3 separate regions of the Homo sapiens genome follow, and all the other regions are linked to region 1. The links are contacts of gene promoters, found by promoter capture Hi-C in blood cells and fetal thymus (Javierre and others, 2016). All regions are on one chromosome and are shown on one strand. Each heading gives the region's core, a stretch centred on a gene start or on the middle of the fragment in contact. The rest is flanking DNA. Distances are from core to core; before and after follow the strand shown. Region 1 holds the start of TEX13B (testis expressed 13B). Region 2 overlaps MORC4 (MORC family CW-type zinc finger 4). Region 3 overlaps TBC1D8B (TBC1 domain family member 8B).

Region 1 (3,249 bases), core at 469-2,968:
GAAATCCGTGCATGCACAGAGGAGCCTGTGCAAGGGCCACAGAGGAAGAGAGAAGATGCTTCGTTTGAAAAACTAAAAATTACTTGCTATGGCCTATCTAAAAGACTATATAACTATTAAGAGGGATTATCACCCAGGTTGAAGGAAGGGTAGGATTATAGAAGTACTTTCCAAGCACTTAAAAATTATTTACAATGATCAGCTGTTACTGGGAGAAACATTTTTTTTCAATTTTGAAAAACATAACACGTTTATTATAAACAATTTTACAATAGAGAAAAATGTCAAGAATATTTTTTAAAGTACTGTATTCCTATTACCCAAAGATAACCACTGTTAAAGTGTTAGTATATAACTTTCCAGATTTGTGATGTATGCATACATATAGTTAGTTATATGCTCTTTGTAACAAGCGAAATTAGAGAAAAATGTATTTTAAAGTTAAAAACTTTTTTTCTAACCTCCAGTCCAACCCCACTTCCCAGAGATAATTAATGTTGAGTCTGCTATATATCCTCTCTCATTCTGTTCTCCAAGATTATAGAAACATACAAACATATGCAAACACACACATACACACAAATACGGGATCATAGAAAACATTACTCCTACAACTTTACATGCCCTTTTGTCATTGGCCATCATCATAGATCCATAGGTAGAAACAGATTCAGTTACAGTACAATGTCATGTAATACGTAGCAACGCTGGACTCAACCTGAGATTTGTCTGATTTATCTTGTGGGTCTCAGAAAGTCATTCAAGGTTTTCTTGTTTTTGTGTTTGTTTGTTTGAGACAGAGTCTCACTCTGTCACCCAGGCTACAGTGCAGTGGTGCGATCTCGGCTCACTGCAACCTCCGCCTCGTGGGTTCAAGCGATTCTCCTGCCTCAGCCTCCCGAGTAGCTGGGACTACATGCGCGTGCCACCACATCTGGCTAATTTTTTGTAATTTTAGTAGAGACGGGGTTTCACCCTGTTAGCCAGGATGGTCTCGATCTTCTGACCTCGTGATCCGCCCATCTCGGTCTCCCAAAGTACTGGGATTACAGGCATGAGCCACCGCGCCCGGCCGAAGGTTTTAAGAGACATATTCATATCCCTCTGATGGAAGATCTCTGATATTTCATGTTTTGGTAAAAAGGTGTATTTATGCTACTCCTAACTCTCTTTCTCCCACAGTTGCTTCAAGATTCAAGGCGTTTCAGTAGGGGAGGAGTGGGAGAAGGGGTGATGGGAGGAGTGTGGGGAAAGAGGAGCTAAGGGAGGAAAGGCAGGCCAGGATTTGTTAGGGTGTCTGGGATGTTTAGTCCTGAGCAAACAGGGGATAAGCTCCGCTCCTGGCTCCACCCTCTTCCTCCAAGGGCAACTGAGGGGTTGGGGCTGTTTCCTGCTCTAGAATATTCCAGTTGGGGGCGAAACTCCCCTGGCATGGCACAAACCATTATGATGGGGAGGGATAAGTCTTCAACTTGTTCACAAATACTTTTTTTGGTCCTAAGTCCTTCCGGACCACTCCTGTTTCTTTCAGCCTTCAAGGTCTCCCGACCATGTGGCAGGTTCCCTTTTGTCCCAGTGGAATGGCAGAGGCCTTCCTCACTCACTCCCTTTCACCCCTACAGTCTCTGGAAATTGGAACAGTCCCAGAGTAAAATCCTCATGGGTTGGCCCTGAGGCTTCTTTTCCCGCAGAGCCCTAGGAGGGAAAGAGGCCACCCTCTCTTCAGGCGTGTTAAGCAGCGGGGTTGGCCTGTACTTCCTCTGGCCCTGGCTGAAGAGGTGAGGCCTGGTGGGAGATGTCCTAGGGTAGGACAAGCCGGTCAGAGGGTCATTAGGAGGGTCTTGTCAGAGGTGGGAGGGCGGAGAAGACAGATGAGGGGAGGGGCTAAGGAGGAGGAAAGAAACCTATTGGCTGCTCCATCCACACAGGGCTAGTGAAACCGTTAAGCCCCTAGGCGATCATGGCCTTGAGACCTGAGGACCCCAGTAGTGGGTTCCGGCACGGAAACGTGGTGGCCTTCATCATCGAGAAAATGGCCAGGCACACGAAAGGCCCCGAGTTCTACTTCGAGAATATATCCTTATCCTGGGAGGAGGTGGAAGACAAGCTCAGGGCCATCCTGGAGGACAGCGAGGTGCCCAGCGAGGTCAAAGAGGCCTGCACCTGGGGCAGCCTGGCCTTGGGTGTGCGCTTTGCCCACAGGCAGGGGCAGTTACAAAACCGCAGGGTGCAGTGGCTGCAAGGCTTTGCCAAACTGCACAGATCAGCTGCGCTGGTCTTGGCCTCAAACCTGACGGAACTCAAGGAACAGCAGGAGATGGAATGCAATGAGGCGACCTTCCAGTTGCAGCTAACCGAGACCAGCCTTGCGGAGGTGCAGAGAGAGCGGGACATGCTGAGATGGAAGCTCTTCCATGCCGTAAGATCCCCCGAATGGTCCCTGTCCAATGCCTCTGCCCTGCCCCAACCTGTCCGGACCCCCTGCCCTGTCCCCAGAATGTGTTTCAGCTCTGCCTACTTCTCTCCAGGAGCTGGCACCTCCCCAGGGACAGGGCCAGGCTACAGTGTTTCCAGGCCTGGCCACTGCCGGAGGGGATTGGACAGAAGGAGCAGGTGAGCAGGAAAAGGAGGCGGTGGCTGCTGCTGGTGCTGCTGGAGGAAAAGGAGAGGAGAGGTATGCAGAGGCAGGGCCTGCCCCCGCAGAGGTCTTGCAGGGGCTGGGAGGAGGCTTCAGGCAGCCCCTCGGAGCTATTGTAGCAGGCAAATTACACCTTTGCGGGGCAGAGGGAGAAAGATCTCAGGTCAGTACAAACAGCCATGTCTGTCTTCTCTGGGCTTGGGTCCACAGTCTCACTGGAGCCTCTTCCTGTCCAGCTCCCTACCTCATTCACATACTCATACCCATGCCCTTTGTCCGCCTTCTCAGCCATACCCAATATACCCCCTTCACCAGCAAAGGTCACAGAACGGGTTCCAACTCAGATGCCTTTCAACTGGGGGGCCTCTGATGCTAGCCTGTGGTCAGATGTGGAGGCCCAGGGAATAGACCCTCAAGAGCCCCCAAGAGACAGGAGAGACTCCGAACTCCATCAGCAGAGAAGACCTCCAGTATATCGCAGGCCAGGGAACTGGGACTGCCCGTGGTGTAAAGCTGTGAATTTTTCATGGAGGGAAAATTGCTTCCTCTGTGGGAGGCGAATCTGGCTGCAAAAGCCTCAGTAAATTCAGAAATGTAAAATAGAACAGAAA
Region 2 (3,118 bases), core at 72-2,571, 1.0 Mb after region 1:
ATTACTTGGTCAAATATTAAGAATATTCTTAAAGCTATTGCAACAGATGTTTAAATGCCCGCAAAAAGGTTGTACCAATTTATGTCCCTTGGTATTTGATGGTTTTTGCTATAATATGGTGTAAAATTTTGTCGTTGAAGCCCCTGGTATGTTTGTCTCCTTAACGATGTTCTTCTCAGAATAAGCAGGTGAGAATCACCTTTGGGTTCTCTTGCAAGAATAGTAACCAGTTTGGAATAATGATGTATCATAACAACCGACTCATAAAATCTTTTGAGAAGGTGGGGTGCCAGGTGAAGGTGAGTAGTTAATATTTCTTTGTCATAGGAGGCTGAAAAGAGTAGGAAGAGAATTTAAAATTTGCAAAGGGGATAGGCTCATTAATGGCTTTTACTCCCATCTTATGATGCTTATTGAATTCTGATCCTGGAATTGTGTTACCAGTGAGCTGTCTTGTGTTGAAATCTCTTTCTAACTCTCATTCTTCAGCTGTTAATCAACCCAACAACTTTACTGAATGCATTTTCTAAGTAGCTGTCAATAAGAGGCAGAATTAGAATACCAGCAAGCTTACCATGTGTGTCAGCTTATTTGTGTTTTAGGTAACTCCATTTTCTTGGAGAGACAATAAGGCATAGTGGAAGGCATATAAAATATGGTGGTTGAAGACCAGGATTTGGGTCCTGAATTTTCCATTTACAAGCTGTGTAACCTTGGATAAATTGTTTAATTTATCTGAAGCTCAATTTCCTGACCTTTATGTAAAGTGGAAACAACAATAATAAGCATACCTGCTTTGCCTGCCTCACAGCTTACAGGGTTGAGAGATTTAAATGGGATAAATTATGTGAAAATATTTTTTAAACCACTCTATACAAATTTTACCATCATCTTTAATGTCTTAATGATTATTTAAAGTAGTAATGTCTACAAGTATCCCTTTTATTCCTATTTTACAGATAAGATTGCTAAAGCACAAAAAATGATGAACTGCTTCAACATAGTAAGACAGTTATATAAAGCCCAGGATAGCTCGTTTTCAGCCTATTTTGTTTTCCCTTGTTATAGCACCTTTAGACAACTCGTGTTTGTGTTCCAGTCCAATTACACCTTTACTTAGTTTCTTCCATTAAAGAATTAGAATATGATTTAAATCTATAAAACTCTTGCGTCAACTTGTAATTAATAATTGCTGTAAGTGTGACTCTTTAGTAGTTGTTTGGTGGCCTATGTATGTGGGAAAATTGTTTATTTTAATATAGGATCACACAGAACCCTTAAAATTGTTTTCAGATGAATATTTGTTTCAGTTCCTTAGAACAGTAGTATATAACCTTGGTTTTTTAGCACGGTAATTCTTTATTCAAATGCAGTCTTATGGCAGTCCTGGAATATAAAGCAGATAAAAGTGGAGGTAGTGTGGGTGAAGTAGAGATGGCTACTAATTGCAGAAGACTCCTAGGGATCTATGGATCATATTTTGAAAATCTCTGCCCTAGAATTTGTCAGAATTTCTAGTTCAGTTTAATGCTTGCAGTCTGTTGATGTACATTCTAAGTGTTTCTCTAGATCTTGATGGTCTTTTCTTGCCCATGAAGGTTATGTAACCTTTCTATTATTGTTTGGAATCAAAAGGAAATGCCTCCAGGCAGCCAACAGTAATGTAAGTGTTGAAATTAATATTTTCTTCTAAGCCAACTCGTGGAGAAGGTGTAGGAGTAATTGGAGTCATTGAGTGCAATTTCCTAAAACCTGCCTACAACAAACAAGACTTTGAGTATACCAAGGAGTACCGGTGAGTCACTCCCAACCTGAGGTGCTTCCGTTAGTTTGTTCAGATATGATTCTGTTCTCTAAAGCCTCTAAAACCATCTCTAAAAAGCAGCTAAATAAGTTAACTGAGAATTACTTCAAATTTGTTTTCCAAGATTAGAGATAAAATGCTTTCATTTTTAAATTAAAGTTTGCTGAATGATATATGGAGTCTCGTTGAGATAAACCTTACCTTTAGAAATTATGCAAAGAGCATAGGAGTAATTTGGTAAAAGATTTCTGGGGAAATGAAAAGCTTTGGAATTGATCTTAATGGAAACAGATGAATGGATCTGAAGTTATGGAATACATTGGATAAAAAAAAGCAGTTTGAAATTTGTTCCAAAAATTTTTCTTGAAGCCAGTGAACAGATTTAGAGCAAAGTGATGGAACAGCAGGAAAGACATGTGCTTTCATTAAAGCATCTAGATTTAATAGGGCAGGCAAACAGGTAAGAATCTGAAAGGAACTCGACATTATGGCTGAACCAGTAGGGATATTTTTCGAAAGGAGTTTTTAAAGCCAGGTTAGAATAGTTTGTTTAAAAAATGTCGAGAGGGAGATGGGTCTTTATTTCATTAAGTATTATGAGACAGCTTCTATGTGCCAGGTACTAAGGATGAAAAATAAGACTCTTTGATACCTATGAACAAATATGTATGCAAATAAGAAACTTAAATACTTATAAAATAATTGCTTTAATAGGGGGTATGTGCAAAGTGGGGAGAACTTTAAATATGCTTAAGGGAGTCAGGGAAGGCTTCACAAAGCAGATTATATTTGATATTAAATATGAAGGAAAAGTTTTCTAGGTGGACAATAGAGGAAGGACATTCTAAGCAGAGGGAAGTATCTGTAAGGGCAAAAAAGGGTAAGAGGTATTCTGGGAGTATGGAGAAAGAAGGCATGAGGACATTTGCGGTCATTTTCCTTGAAGTCTCAGTAGCAAATATTTTTCTTAGAGTGGGAGAAAAGAAATTTCCCAAATCTCTTTTGTTTTGTGCCCAAACTGTAATAAAGTCAAGTCTTGTACCTTAATTTGTCTGTAACCACAAGAATTTTAGGTTTAGTGTTTGAGAGAGATAACTATTTGAATGGCAACTCCAAATTAATTTCAGGGTAATTGGTTCATGGTTACTTGGGCTACTCAGTGGTTATGACAACTACCTGCCCTCAGTCTAAGTAAAATGGTCATTTAAATGTAAATCTGGCCCATAATGGAAATCTTTGACCAGGACTTAACTCTAAGTGAAAGCTTAGGAATGACATTAGTTTGACAGAAGTCTCCGAGTCAAGTTATTATGT
Region 3 (3,192 bases), core at 447-2,946, 1.1 Mb after region 1:
TAAAAGGTACTTTTTGCAATGCTCCTTCAGTTTAAAGCCTAAGACTGTTTTCACAAAGTAGGGATCAGGCTTTGGCAAGGCATCCTCTTCAGGTCAGTGGGAAAAACAAGTAAACTGAATGGTGTGGTAATTTTGAGGTAGTACGGAAGAATATAAAGAAATGTGAGCTTTGGAGTCAGACTTCAGTTTGCTATGCAATTTATTAGCGATGTGATCTTTGGCAAATTTTTATCTTTCCAGCTCTCAGTTTCCTTATCATCAAAATTGGAAGGATAATGCCACCTATCATGGATATTATGAGAATTAAATTTTAAAAATGCATGTAAAGTTAATGTCTTGACAGAGCAGGTGCTTAATAAATGATAGCGTTTATTGTGCTTCCTTTTTAAAATATTTAATATCCCTGCTTCCTTGTCCCATTTTTCTGAATAATTTGTAGTATTTCGCAGGTTTGGCAGTTTGTCTAAAGTTAATTTCCACTCTAATGACAACAACAACAATTCAACATTATACCAACAATCAAATGATATGTGATTCTTATATACAAACTACTTATCATTAAATTGACTACTAACAGGAAGGAAACTTGTGGGCCCATATGTTACACAGAATCTCTTCCATAGAAGATCACTGTATCTATATCAGCAAAAAGTAGTCATAATATAATTTGAGGGCCACAGTGAAGCAACGATCTTATATCATGTTGAAAATTAGTTTAGTTGTTAAAAAAATCTGTAATTATACTTGCTAAAATGGAATAAATTCCTGCTGTACATCGTTAAAGACTGGTAAACTCTTACCTGGAGGAATATGTAGCTTAAAAAGCAGCTTAAGCTTCTCAGTAAAACTTCCATTGTACATTATGTCTGTTCAATAAAATTCAATTGTAAATAATCATGTATCTAAAGAACATTCAATCAATTTCAGCAACAAAGATTAATTAAGATATAGACATTAGTCAAAAATTAGGATTTAGAAACCTGTTACTTAAGCTAACAATTAAACAACCACCTAGTCAATCAGATGCTCTCCTTCAAGTGTATAACTGTATAAGCAAAATACTCTTTATCAAAAAAGTAAAATGTTCTCTTTCCTAGCTCCTTCCCCCCAATCTCAGATTTCTCTTTTCTTTTGAATGAGGCCTGTGCAGGAGAGAACTGTTCTTCAAGGGGTGATCCCTGATAAGAAAGCATGCTGGGGTATCTGGAAAAGCAAATGAACAATATCTACAGGTACAACATCTTGACTATCTGTAGGTACAACATGTTTGCTGGGTATTTATCTACCACTCTTCTAGGCTATGTGGTTGAATTTTTACGGGGAGGTCGGTGGGGTGGGGGAAGTCCTTCGGTAGTACCCATGCATCTGAGTGTGGGAAAATTGGGACGTTATCTTCCTTATGTTAACCCTTAAAACACTCACATCTAACAGCTTGCTTTTCTGAAAGGGTTGGGGAAAATAATATCAAAATACTTAGATTTAGCAACAAATGCAGAAAAGGGTCCATTTATTACTAAAGCTAAACACACTGTAACCCATGGTGATATAATCTGACTAAATTGGCAATAATAGGCAGTACTAAGTATTTCTAGGAGCACCTTTTTTTTTTGCTTAAAAAAATCATCTTACCAATTGCAGAGGAGAATTCTTTGAAGTTTATAAGGCAATCAGAGTTTTCATCTAACAATCTGAATGTCCATAAAGCTAGTGAGTCTTTATTTGCAGAATGAGCCCAGGGACTCAACAAGTGATACAACGCTCTGAACTGCTGGCAGTCAATCTGATACTGTTCCAAATATGGCAGACTGGGGTCATGATGCTTCAATACTGGGCAACCCAAACACCAATAACAAGATAAAAACAGCTCTTTCTATTAAAAATAAATAAAAAAGGAAAGTTACTAATTAGAAAAAGTAATTTTGGAAGATTTTAAAAACCATGTCTGCTAAAATAAAGATAAAAATAATTAGAATGGCTGTGATACAATTCTGCTAAAAAAAAGCATTATTTTTCATTTAAAGAAGAACAACAGTACCTTAAAGATGACATAAAGTTCATCCAATTCTTGAAGGCTCAATTTCACATCTTGTGATACAACACGCAACTTTAAAAAGATTAAAAGCAATTTAGTACACAGATTTTAACATTGCAGTAAAGAAATTCTCTTTGAATTACCTTAGAGTCTCTCTCTGCTAGAAGAAAATATTTGTGTTTTAACTTCTTAAATGAATAATAAAAAGTTATTATAAGTTATTATATTATAAAGTTATTATCTATTTTTCCTTTTAAAAAGTAGTAGTAGACTAGTTCAATTCTACTCTAATATGTACTTTGATATTCATCTCTTCATACTCAGAAATCACTGCCAAAGAACAGCCACTTAATGTCTATAAATATAAGTAACAGTATTCTAAGTCCTATTCCATATATTCCTCTCTTGCCACATAAGCAGCATATCTAGTCATCATGTGAGGTTGCTATTAAATACTTCAAAGGCATTGGGAGATGTACATTCCCTCTCTATGCCAAAAAACATAATCCAAGAAGTAATAAGCTTAGAAAATATGTACTTTTATCCTATTCCATGAAGAAGAAGGACTAATGATACAATCATTATGATATCTAAGAAATTTGAAAGCAAAGGTAAAGAAAAAAGCTAGAATTGATGAAATACAGAAAATTAAAAAAACCCGGTAGACTCAGTAAATAAAATTAAGAGTTGGTTTATTGAAAAAATCAATAAGATAGACACATTTCTGGCAAGTGAGATGAAAGAAATCACAAATGACTATCATCGAGAAGTGGATAATTTAAGCATGGATACAGAAGTCATTTAAAGTGCCCAGCAGAGGAATGGTGGCTCATGCCTGTAATCCCAGCACTTGGGAGGCCAAGGCAGGCAGATCACTTGAGGCCAGGAGTTCAAGACCAGCCTGGCCAACTTGGTGAAACCCTGTCTCTACTAAAAATACAAAAATTAGCCAGGTGTGGTGGCGTATGCCTATAATCGCAGCTACTCAGGAGACTGAGGCACAAGAATCACTTGAACCCGGGAGGCAGAGGTTGCAGTGAGCCGAGATCATGCCACTGTATTCCAGCCTGGGCGACAGAGTGAGACTGTCTCAAAAAAAAAAAAAAAAAAAAAAAAAAGGTGCCCAGCATGGGAGGGGCCAATATGACAAACTAGAAGCA

What was found. The method cuts DNA at HindIII sites, captures the fragments that hold promoters and counts their contacts. A CHiCAGO score of 5 or more calls a contact.
Region 2: a contact is called between a fragment that was not itself captured here and the fragment with the promoter of TEX13B in region 1, in 2 of 17 cell types (total CD4 T cells and naive CD8 T cells). The highest score is 6.3, in total CD4 T cells.
Region 3: a fragment that was not itself captured here is called in contact with the fragment with the promoter of TEX13B in region 1 in 3 of 17 cell types (total B cells, non-activated CD4 T cells and activated CD4 T cells); the score reaches 8.4 in total B cells.

Annotation. Positions count from the first base shown.
Region 1 is chrX:107,980,839-107,984,087 of GRCh38, reverse strand. It overlaps TEX13B (testis expressed 13B), which reads left to right and starts at 1,718. Exons shown (of 3, transcript NM_031273.2): 1 at 1,718-1,778; 2 at 1,929-2,419; 3 at 2,529-3,224. The coding sequence starts at 1,961. The coding sequence ends at 3,008. It also overlaps the pseudogene LOC112267910 and the pseudogene NLRP3P1. The HindIII fragment of the contact is 6,409 bases long and covers 1-3,249 here.
Region 2 is chrX:106,975,261-106,978,378 of GRCh38, reverse strand. MORC4 (MORC family CW-type zinc finger 4) reads left to right here. Exons shown (of 17, transcript NM_024657.5): 8 at 180-299; 9 at 1,695-1,795. Among named protein-coding and RNA genes, the nearest start is that of MORC4, 23 kb to the left of the region's middle. The HindIII fragment of the contact is 1,499 bases long and covers 572-2,070 here.
Region 3 is chrX:106,864,471-106,867,662 of GRCh38, reverse strand. It overlaps TBC1D8B (TBC1 domain family member 8B), which reads right to left. Exons shown (of 21, transcript NM_017752.3): 15 at 2,036-2,104; 16 at 1,630-1,870; 17 at 801-866. Among named protein-coding and RNA genes, the nearest start is that of RIPPLY1, 37 kb to the left of the region's middle. The HindIII fragment of the contact is 1,720 bases long and covers 837-2,556 here.